Regions from separate parts of the Homo sapiens genome. Here all the other regions are linked to region 1. The links are contacts of gene promoters, found by promoter capture Hi-C in blood cells and fetal thymus (Javierre and others, 2016). All regions are on one chromosome and are shown on one strand. The core of a region is centred on a gene start or on the middle of the fragment in contact, and the rest is flanking DNA. Distances in the headings are between cores, read along the strand shown. Region 1 overlaps METAP1D (methionyl aminopeptidase type 1D, mitochondrial). Region 2 holds the start of HOXD8 (homeobox D8). Region 3 holds the start of HOXD4 (homeobox D4).

The links. Contacts are between HindIII fragments. The CHiCAGO score rates a contact against its expected background, and 5 or more counts as called.
Region 2: the fragment with the promoter of HOXD8 here is called in contact with a fragment that was not itself captured in region 1 in 1 of 17 cell types (total B cells); the score reaches 8.0 in total B cells.
Region 3: a contact is called between the fragment with the promoter of HOXD4 here and a fragment that was not itself captured in region 1, in 1 of 17 cell types (total B cells). The highest score is 5.6, in total B cells.

What each region holds. Positions count from the first base shown.
Region 1 is chr2:172,078,177-172,081,688 of GRCh38, forward strand. METAP1D (methionyl aminopeptidase type 1D, mitochondrial) reads left to right here. Exons shown (of 10, transcript NM_199227.3): 8 at 1,039-1,086; 9 at 1,952-2,030; 10 at 2,152-3,512. The coding sequence ends at 2,230. Among named protein-coding and RNA genes, the nearest start is that of DLX1, 5.6 kb to the right of the region's middle. RefSeq lists enhancers at 2,156-2,684, 2,685-3,214. The HindIII fragment of the contact is 545 bases long and covers 1,132-1,676 here.
Region 2 is chr2:176,127,191-176,131,026 of GRCh38, forward strand. HOXD8 (homeobox D8) reads left to right here and starts at 2,515. Exons shown (of 2, transcript NM_019558.4): 1 at 2,515-3,753. The coding sequence starts at 3,177. LOC100129455 (a long non-coding RNA gene) reads right to left here and starts at 3,338. Exons shown (of 1, transcript NR_187615.1): 1 at 635-3,338. The HindIII fragment of the contact is 7,912 bases long and covers 1-3,836 here.
Region 3 is chr2:176,149,936-176,153,520 of GRCh38, forward strand. It overlaps HOXD4 (homeobox D4), which reads left to right and starts at 1,615. Exons shown (of 2, transcript NM_014621.3): 1 at 1,615-2,131; 2 at 2,673-3,291. The coding sequence starts at 1,699. The coding sequence ends at 3,007. It overlaps MIR10B (microRNA 10b), which reads left to right and starts at 368; the gene lies at 368-477. It also overlaps a transcript of HOXD3 not described here. RefSeq lists an enhancer at 1,334-2,067. The HindIII fragment of the contact is 3,668 bases long and covers 888-3,585 here.

The DNA of each region.
Region 1 (3,512 bases), core at 154-2,653:
AGAAAAAGTTACTGAAAACAAAACGCCACTGCATCAGTGTCCCAGCAGCATGCACATATGACTGTTTCTGTTTTTCTTTTTCTACCCCCTTTTCTAGCTGCTGACTGTTGTGGTTAAACTTCATTACATCCTACACAGCGTTGACAGCTGATGTATTTAGCAGCATGTACTCCTTCGTGATTTCTAGATTATGCCCACCCTTGTCTTCCTTCCCCAGAATCTCTTGTTTTTCACTGCCTGGGTGTGCACCCTATAGTGAGAAGACAGGGGTGGGCCCAGAGGGGTGGGAGGATTTGGATTGAGGTAGGAGGCAGCTCAGTGGAGCACCCTCAAGGCAGGTCCACACCTGGACGGGGATCAAAGGAAAGTTGGTCCTGGGGCCTTGACCTGTGCCCCTATGGACTTGATTGGTCCATAGAAGGACTACTCTTTCGGACCCATGCCCTCGAGGATCGCTGGACACCCAGCAGGTCCAAACCCTCTTTGGACCAAAGAGCCCCCACCTAGGCAGCTCAAGAGGTTCAGGTGAGAGTGCAGAAACGGCTTGTCAGCCTTGTGCCCTACCTGGTGCCAATGTCTGGAGTGAAGCTATTTGAAGTCAGGCCCCTGCTCCCCACAACCTGCACCAAAGGAGGCTTCCCTCCTTTGCATCCTTCCCCAGGACTTCTTTGAGTGAGGGGTGTGGGCAAGGCCCAGGACCCAGTAGTAGGCTGGGAGACCTAGTAGCCTGGGGGACAGGGAGAGGGGGCGAGGAAGCCTGACGTGTCTGAAACAACCAGGCTGCCCCTGCCAGGCCTTGGAAAACTCTTCTGGGGGAGTCTTGACCCAGAGCACAGATAATGCAAAGACTCAGGCCCAGTAGCCCCGTGTTTAACTCCTGGTCACTATCCAGGACTCCAGAAATCTCCACCCTTCCTTCTCTAAAAGAAGAGAAATAAAACGACCAAGTTTTTTAAAGGGGCCTGACCCCTGTAATCTGTTTTTTTTTTCTGTCCTCCCCATTTCCTATTCTCACCCCCCATGTTTTTTGTTTTGCAGCAAACGACAGTGATCTACCCATGGAGGAGGGCATGGCATTCACTATAGGTAAATTGAGCTCCTCTTCCGAGTGAGTGCGTAGCTCCTGGTGGAAGCTTTTGCCACTGGCCTAGGCCCGGCAGTCCGGTGAAGGACCAATAAAGCCAATCAGTGTAATGAAATAATTCGGATGCACTGGAAATCTGATTAAATAATATCCTCAAGCCCCATCTTCCTAAATCAGATACTTACCGACACATTTAGGAGAAGGCAGCCATCCAACCTCTAATTCTGTTACCAGCATAATGTGGTGTTGGGTTTTTTGTTTTGTTTTGTTTTTTCATTAACACCCAGTAACTAGACACGATTATGTCCCTTGCTCCCTGTCAGCAAGTGGCATGTGCTCTCTGGTGGCCCGTTCCTGGCTGATCCTGTGATTGGTATCACCACCAAATTCCAGTCACCTAGGGCCGTAAAGACATCCTGTTTCTGACTGTGGGACTTAATGGAGAAGCAATTAGAGTGAAATAAGAAAATTGTTATTTGCTGATGAATGAACATCTCGAGCATGTTTTTAAAATTTAAATATTTTTTTAAAAATTGGTATTTATAAGAGGGACTGGTGTTTGGGTGGTTATTATCCACGGGGTCCTAATTAAAGCTTGATTAAAATGCCCTTCTTTCTCTAAAAAATTACGAACTAGGCAACTTCATACATTTTGAATGGCGCAGTGTTTCCTCTTCCAACTGTTTAGTTTGTAGTATACTATGTAAGCAACATCAATTATCAACCCTTGCAAGATGACAACATGAGCCTGTGGGGGAAGCACTTGAGGGGAGGGAGGAGAAACTTCTCTTTTTTAATAATCAGCCGGAAACAATGTTTAACAAGAATCTGATGAGGTCACTGCAGTAAATATTTTTCCTCTTACAGAGCCAATCATCACGGAGGGATCCCCTGAATTTAAAGTCCTGGAGGATGCATGGACTGTGGTCTCCCTAGACAATCAAAGGTGTTTGCTTTCTGCTCTGTTGCTTTTAAATTGTATGGGAAAGGAAGATTGGTCCGACGGCGCGCTTGTGGCCCGGCCGGAGCTTGCGTGCGCGTTCTGACGGCTGGGTGCTGTGTTACAGGTCGGCGCAGTTCGAGCACACGGTTCTGATCACGTCGAGGGGCGCGCAGATCCTGACCAAACTACCCCATGAGGCCTGAGGAGCCGCCCGAAGGTCGCGGTGACCTGGTGCCTTTTTAAATAAATTGCTGAAATTTGGCTGGAGAACTTTTAGAAGAAACAGGGAAATGACCGGTGGTGCGGTAACCTGCGTGGCTCCTGATAGCGTTTGGAAGAACGCGGGGGAGACTGAAGAGCAACTGGGAACTCGGATCTGAAGCCCTGCTGGGGTCGCGCGGCTTTGGAAAAACAAATCCTGGCCCTGGACTCGGTTTCCCAGCGCGGTCAACGCATCTGGAGGGGACTGGAGGAAACCCCCTTGTTGGAAGAGATTCCAAGAGAAGCACGGTTTTCTCTTTCCCTTGCCCTGACTGTTGGAGTAAAAAACCTCTTAAATCCATTGTATCAGAGGTCCTTACCTCTCTGACAGTTACAGTGATCTTTGTATCTGAACTTTGCACGTCTGCCGAAAAATCCGAACCTGTTGACTGGGATTTTTAAGAATCCGTTTCTCCCTTTTGTGTATTCCATATTGGCCGGCCCCAAGGATGCTCGCAGAAGCCAGCCCCCAACCCCAGCCCTTCCGTATCTTTCCCCTCCATCGCGGCTTTGCGATGAAAGATTAGCCCGCGAACAGAGGCATTGATTACAAACATGTCCTTGGCAGTGGACTCTGGGCCTGGCCATTCTTCAGGTTTCTGTCAATCCAGAAACGCGACTTTCCTGGACCCCTGCGGCTCTTCCTCCCCCGCCCACATCCAGCCCTCCAAGGCCAGTCCAGAGGTGAAGTTTGAGGCCCTCCCCCCACCCACCCCACACGCACGCACGCACGCTAGACCGTTTGCTGCACTAGGAATTCGAGCTTGGGCCCCACTCGCCCAGGTGTGAACAGTGGCTGATTAGTGGGCGGTCTAGTCTCTAAAATGACCCCTCCCCAGACTGGCCCTTCTCGCATCGGGACCCGCGCTTGCACGCTGCAGGAGCCGCAAACGTCAGCTGTTCTGGAAACCGAGAGGGTCCCAGAGAGAGGAGATACGGGCGCATTTGAGAGCAAGGGCCTACTTGGCCGGGACTGAAGCTTGCGAGTTGAGCTCCAGTTCGGCCGGCAGTTCCATCCCGCTTCAGGAACAGGAATCCAAGGGCCCACGCTCTGTCTGCCAAGGGCCATTCCTGCCCGGAGCACCCTCCTTTCCCTTGCGCTTGCTCTCCGGTACCTGTTCCTCACCTGAGCTCAAGGGCAGGGAGAGGCCGGGCCTCTGGCAGTCCACGAAGGAAGCCGTCTGCCTTCGGTTATGATTTTAGGAACAAGTCCAACGAGGGTGT
Region 2 (3,836 bases), core at 1,265-3,764, 4.1 Mb after region 1:
GAGGTGGCATTTGGCCACTAGAGAGCGCTGTTGCTCCACTTTCTGATCTCGTAAAGCTGGAATTGCGGCGGAGAAAGGTTTTGATTAAAAATATTAACAATCTTATTTTTAATCCGAAATTAGGATAATTTTAACCAAAAATAAACAAGGTGTACTATTAATTTCTGTGTTTGCTGGGCATAAAATTTTGGCTCGATCATGGCTTCAGAAACTTTGGACTGTGGCACAGCTGAAACTATAAAACATGATAAATTAATGTATTATATCAAAACAGAAAGCTGTAAAAAGCATAGATCTTTTCTTACTAAGTTAATCGCGCTCTTTTTCTACTCATATTATAAACGGAATGCTTAAATAAATGTTAAAAACTGTTTTGTCCCAAGAGGAAATGTTGTAACGTTTTCTAAATTTGGCCTGAATGTCTATAAATGAATTTTCTAGTGTTCATTTTTCTTTTATTCCCCCGAGGAATCACACAGTTCTACAAGATGCCTGGTATTGTTGAGATCCAGGCTCTTTCATTTTCCCCCCCCCCATTCCATTCCAAAATCCACTCATTTATCCAGGGTTCAAACACACACACACACACACACACACACACACACACACGCCAAACTGAAAAAAAGGGGCACAATTACAAAGGTAGCTCCAAGGCTTTATTGACAATAATAATCTTTTAATTGGGCATTTGCAAGATTGAAGGACAAATCCTTAATTGTCAGAATCAATTCGTTCGCCTTCGGATTTAAAGAAAGTCATTATACTTGGCAATAACCAGCAGAAAAAAAACCCCACAAAAACAAACAGCAACAACAACAAAAAAACCCTTGCTCTCCACCACCCCAAGTCTGCACTCCTTACTAATTTAAAAATTAAATAAAGCATGCCTCTGTCATCTCCAGATTCATTAACGATTCCTTTACCTTTCAGTCATTCCCAGTAGAAATAATTGAGTCGGACATTATCACCTTGCTATGTCTGTCCATCTCGATCTCATTTTCTCCATTTGTAAAAATGATATTTCAGTCCACCCGGACACAAGTCAGGATCGCGCTCGCAGGCTGGGCCAACCCACAAGGAGCTAGGGGTAGCTGAAATCGCTCGCCAGCCTGCAGCATCTCTGAGGCCGTCTGGGGTTTTCGGAAATTTGCATTTGGTGTGGAAAGCCGGCGTGGTGCGTTTAGCTTGAGCAGGGGCGCCTTGGAGGTCTATTTCCAAGGCTGTGGGCCTGGCGCCCTCACGACATTGTACCTATCCCGAAGGAAACGGGGCTCAGTCACCCAAAGAGCCCACGAGAAAGGCCGAGCAGGAGAGGGGAAAACACACACACACAACAGAGAACCATTGCATTTATTGGACATTGAAACGGGAGCAGAGAGGGAAAGGAAGTGTGTGGGGAGGCGGTTGGTAGGGTAAAGCCAGACAGCTTTGGAGAGAGCTGCTAAAATCGGGAATATTTTGTCGATTCACACTCGACTGGGCCACATGACTCGGGCAACTTTTCTTCATCTCTGCTCACAAACTAGGCTGAGCCTTCTCTTTCTCTGCTTTGGGAAAAATTCGTAACTTTGAGGCCTGCGCGCTCTCTCGGCAGTAATTTCACAGGCTTGGCGGAGGAAGTAGGATCGTTAGCATAAGATGGGCCGCCTGCAGCTGCCTGGAACCGGCGCGATCTGAACGCCGGCTGGGAGGCTCCTGGGGGGAACTTGCGGTCGTCTGCCCTCCGCACTCCTCCGGGAACCGCAGCCGGCCCTGGTTCGCTGCGCGCCGGGGCTGAGACCCGGGAGCCGCGTCCTGCCCGAGGAAATGTCACCCTCCCCAGCGCGAGCCCTTTTTCCCGCCTCAGAACGTTTCTGTCCGCTCTTCTATTTACTCTCTCAGCAAGCCTAATGCCCCCTCCTGCATTCTTCAGCCTCCCCCTGCGCCCAGGGCTGACGTCTATCAAGGGTGAAATGATGGAAACTATATTCATGGGCATGATTTCCATTAAATATCAATTAACCTGAGAGCCTCGGCCAGGCTTGCGGTGCGTCAAGGGTAAATGTACATCTCATTTCCACAGGGCCCGCTCGGCTGGAAAAGAAAGGCTTTGATTTGCTTTGATAACGCCAGGATCTGGGGCCACACTCGCGGCTTTTAATTAAACCACTTCGATATGCCCCAACTCAAATGCACGGTCCGGTCCGTCAACACCTCTTGTCCACGTTCCCTGGGCTGCACCCGCGTGTCCAGAGCTGCAAAAGCCACGGGCAACCTCTGCTTTTGCAGCCAGGGGCTCGGGGAGGCAGTCATTTGCTCCGCAGCCTCCTGGGAGTGGCCTCCTTGGCTCCCCCAAGTCTAAGGCTCCGCCGCGGCCCCTCCCTGCCGGCTGCGATCCGCATTCCCGCGGCCCCGGGGCACACGGAGCCCTTGGCAGTGCGTCTTTATGGGCCCCCTTTAAGGCCGGCGGAGGCATCTCGGGCCGGGCGCGGCGCTCCGTCCGTCGGCCGTAGCGACTGAACTGCGCGCGGATCCCTCCGCGGGGCTCCTCGTCCCCGTCACGCTGACTTTCCGTGCAGTGCTGTGGTGCGAAAATGCCTCGCCGGTGCGCACCGGGTCGGCAGCCTCGGCGGCGGGGGCGAGATTGGCGGGAGGGGGGCGCGGGGGGGGCGCGGTAAGAGGTGGCGGCGGGCAGAGGGTGTTTTTTTTCTTTTCCCTCCAGAGCCGGGGTTTGTAAACCGAGGCCAGAGTGTCCCCGTGGGCCGAGCGCACTTTTTTCTTGTCCGGGTGCGCTCAGTCACTGGTGCCTGAGAGGAAACAGTGGAGGCAGCGGGGCAGGTCGCCTGGGGCGTCGGCGATTATATTGCGGCCGAGCCGGGGCGCGCCGGGAAAGGCCGGGAGGGCGGCGGCGCGCGGGGGCTGGGCGAGGCCCCGCGACCCGCGAGGGAGGCGGCGCGAAGCCGAGGCGGCGGGCGCAAGAGCCGGGCATGAGCGCCCAGTAGCTGAGCGCCCGCGGCTGCCTGGCCTCAGAAGCGACGCGCGAGCGCGGGCGGGCGGCAGCAGCGACGTAGCCCGGCGGTCCCGGCGGCGAGAGCAGCCGCCCCACAGGCCCCCGCGGCAGTGCGGCCGAGTCGAGGCTCGCTCTCTGGCTGCTTAGCGCCGCCCGCCCGCCCGGGGCCGCCGCCGCTGACGCCCCAATGAGTTCGTACTTCGTGAACCCGCTGTACTCCAAGTACAAGGCGGCGGCTGCGGCGGCGGCGGCGGCGGGCGAGGCCATCAATCCCACTTACTACGACTGTCACTTCGCGCCCGAGGTCGGCGGCCGTCACGCCGCCGCCGCAGCAGCCCTGCAGCTCTATGGCAACAGCGCCGCCGGCTTCCCGCACGCGCCCCCGCAGGCGCACGCGCACCCGCACCCGTCCCCGCCGCCCTCCGGGACTGGGTGCGGCGGTAGGGAAGGCCGGGGCCAGGAGTACTTCCACCCCGGCGGGGGCAGCCCGGCCGCTGCCTACCAGGCCGCCCCCCCTCCTCCTCCGCATCCTCCGCCTCCGCCGCCACCTCCCCCCTGCGGCGGGATTGCCTGTCACGGGGAGCCCGCGAAGTTTTACGGATACGATAACTTACAGAGACAGCCGATTTTTACGACCCAGCAAGAGGCCGAGCTGGTACAATATCCTGACTGTAAATCGTCCAGTGGTAATATTGGCGAGGACCCAGACCACTTAAATCAGAGCTCGTCTCCTTCTCAAATGTTTCCGTGGATGAGACCACAAGGTTGGGATGCATTTTTTTTTTAAGAAGGGAGAGGGGGAGAAATCTGCTTTCATCTCACGTTCTGGCTTTAAAACTCCCGTTCC
Region 3 (3,585 bases), core at 365-2,864, 4.1 Mb after region 1:
TCTCGCTTCTTTTTCTTCTGCCGCTGAGGGCATTTGTTCCTTTCTGGAAAATACCACTTGGTAAGGAGGAGGGTTATTTGGATCCTGGTGGGGGAGGGTGGTTAATAAAGCCGCCATCCTTGGGATGGATTATTTTTCTTTCTTTCTTTCTTTTTTTCTTTCTTAAGAAGAATATTCTGGTTGTTCGCCTGCTTGGTAACCCTGACCCTGGCAGAAGAATGAGGGAACTCATTGCTTCAAATTGTCGCCAAGCCCATTAGGCTACCTGAACTGTCTCAGAAAGTGCGGGTGGCTGCGTCGAACGGTGGTGGCTCAGAGGAAGAGATTGGGGCCGGCAGCGACCTAGGTACCTCACTCTGGGTGGGACCCAGAGGTTGTAACGTTGTCTATATATACCCTGTAGAACCGAATTTGTGTGGTATCCGTATAGTCACAGATTCGATTCTAGGGGAATATATGGTCGATGCAAAAACTTCACGTTTCTTCGGAATAGCCAGAGACCAAAGTGCGACATGGAGACTAGAAGCAGCCGGCGCTGGTCAGCCGCCTCGTTCTGTTTTATTACCTTGGACTCCAGGAGGATCAGCTGCGCCTGGTGACATAGAGCAGCTTTTCCTCTCCAGAAGCTCCTCACCTTTAAACAGAGTATCCTCTGGGTGCTGAAAAGAAAGAAAGACAGAAAGAGAGAAAGAGAGAGAGAGAGAGAAAGAGAGAATGCAAGCCTAATTGGTTGCATGGATGCAGGGCCAAAGGGCTAGGTTTTGGGGTACTAGGGAGTGAGGTACAAGGCCAGCTTGCCCAGTCCCAGCTCTGCCCTCCAGGAACATGAGGTGCAAAGGTACCCAAATGGGGGCTTGCTTGTATTTGGGGCCTGTGGGAAGAAAGCAAGCTTCAAAGAAGCCCAGTGGGGAGCTCTAGGGTGCATTTTGACAAGGTGGAGGTGCCCTTGCCACCATCCCAGCCCACCCCCAGCTACATGGGCAAGGGCAGCGAGGGCCCCCTGCTATTTTGGCAGGGCCCAGCTTTGGCTGGGAACCCCCGGGCCTGGGCACTGGTAGAAAGCATGGCGGTTACTCATTGCCTAATTTGATTCAAGCTGGCCAGATTCTGGTAACTTTTGGGTGACCCTGATGAAGACAAAGCCAGGACGGCGGCCTTTGTATGGCAGAATCCCTGCTCCCGCCGGCTGCAGGCAGGGCGGGCAGGCAGGAACCCTCCTCGCCTGGGGCACTCTGCCCAACTCAGAGGCGAGTTCACCCACCCACCTTTCATTGCTCTGTACCCCAATAGGAGGATTCATTCTCCCTTGAGCTGTGCCTACTTGGTGTCGGGGGGCGGGGGTTGCATTCAGCTGGGGGTGAGTGGAAGGGCCACGGAAGGTTGGCAAAATCAGTGGCAGACAAAAGCTGGGATTACCTGAGGGGAATGGGGTGCTGGGGACTGGAACTACATTAATATCTGGCAGGGGCTCTCAAATGTGCCATAGCAAGCTACTTGATTACACGTATGTTATTTAGTTAAATTTGTGAAAATTATGAGATGCTCACCAACCCGGTGATAAACTTGCTCCCTCGCCATTGGCTGGCCTGGTCACATGGCTGCCCAACTTTATTCAGTTGACAGCAAGTAGGAGGGCCCTATGGAAGGAGAAAAAAAGACAACACGAGAAAAATTAGTATTTTCTACCTTCTGAAATTAATGGTCATGAGTTCGTATATGGTGAACTCCAAGTATGTGGACCCCAAGTTCCCTCCGTGCGAGGAGTATTTGCAGGGCGGCTACCTAGGCGAGCAGGGCGCCGACTACTACGGCGGCGGCGCGCAGGGCGCAGACTTCCAGCCCCCGGGGCTCTACCCACGGCCCGACTTCGGTGAGCAGCCTTTCGGAGGCAGCGGCCCCGGGCCTGGCTCGGCGCTGCCTGCGCGGGGTCACGGACAAGAGCCAGGCGGCCCCGGCGGTCACTACGCCGCTCCAGGAGAGCCTTGCCCAGCTCCCCCGGCGCCTCCGCCGGCGCCCCTGCCTGGCGCCCGGGCCTACAGTCAGTCCGACCCCAAGCAGCCGCCCTCCGGGACGGCACTCAAGCAGCCGGCCGTGGTCTACCCCTGGATGAAGAAGGTGCACGTGAATTCGGGTAAGGCTAGGGTCCAGTAACCTTTCTGTCCACATCCCAGCCCGTTAGCCTGGGTCCTCTGGAAGGGGGTGCGAGTAGGTGGGGGCGTGTGGAGCTTCCATGGGCGCCGCAATTACTCTCCCCATAAATTTTTATAGCTGAGGGAGCAGGTCAGGACCATGTGGCTGGCTGCTCGGCTGTGGGCGCAAAAGGGGGTGGGGATGGGGGGGTGGGGGAGGACTCCATTTTCAGAGCAGGGGGAAGGCTGTGGAGGAGCGGGGGATTTCCAAAATGCTTGAGGGTTCCGGACCTGGTGGTGGGCCCAGAAGAAGGAGCACATTTGGGGATCCCGCAAGCCTGGGGTATGTGGGTGTGTTTGAGGAGGTGGGTGGGAGTGAGCGTGTGCGCCGGGGAGAGGGCGGGAGGGAGGAAGCAAGCGAGCTTGGGAGCGCGCGGGGAGGGCCGCGGGCCTCGGGGCGCGCCAGGAAGTGAGCGGCGGAGGCGAGGGGCCTAACTAGTGGCCGGGCGCTGACCTGCCTGTCCTGTCTGTTTTGTCTCGCAGTGAACCCCAACTACACCGGTGGGGAACCCAAGCGGTCCCGAACGGCCTACACCCGGCAGCAAGTCCTAGAACTGGAAAAAGAATTTCATTTTAACAGGTATCTGACAAGGCGCCGTCGGATTGAAATCGCTCACACCCTGTGTCTGTCGGAGCGCCAGATCAAGATCTGGTTCCAGAACCGGAGGATGAAGTGGAAAAAAGATCATAAGCTGCCCAACACTAAAGGCAGGTCATCGTCCTCATCTTCCTCCTCATCTTGCTCCTCCTCAGTCGCCCCCAGCCAGCATTTACAGCCGATGGCCAAAGACCACCACACGGACCTGACGACCTTATAGAAGTGGGGACCCTGGGCCCATCTCTCCCTGCGCACCAGGCTGAGCCGAAGCTGCGGGGGCAGGCCGGGCCTGCTGTCACCTCGCTGGGCTCTAAGGTACTGTGGGGTGGACCTGGGACAAGCAGGCCGCCCTCGGACTAGGTTAGCATCCTGCCCGAGGGCAGCCCCCTCCCTAGAGCGGGATGGGGATGGGAGGGGGGGCGGGATTCTCTCTCTAAGTATATTATATGGCAGGAGCTACTGAGAACATAAAATCTTGGCGAGTCATTAAACTTATGAAAATCACCGCTCTTGGATTTTGAATTTGCAAATGAAGGTTGGATGCTTTATCCCACTGTGAATTTGGACATTCTCCCCCACTCCACCCCTCCAGGGTGCTTTGTGGCTTAATAATGTGGGGGAGTTGAGGCAGAAGGTTGGCCACCCCTGTGCTAGGTGCTTTCAGTGGAAGCCAGAGAGCTGGGTCAGGATTTCTGGACTTTCTGGGTTGTCTATGGAATTTCATGTGATTAAAAAATATATATTTTGCTCCCAGTGGCCCCACCTCCAAAGAAATGGGTCTAAGAAGGAAGTAAAAAT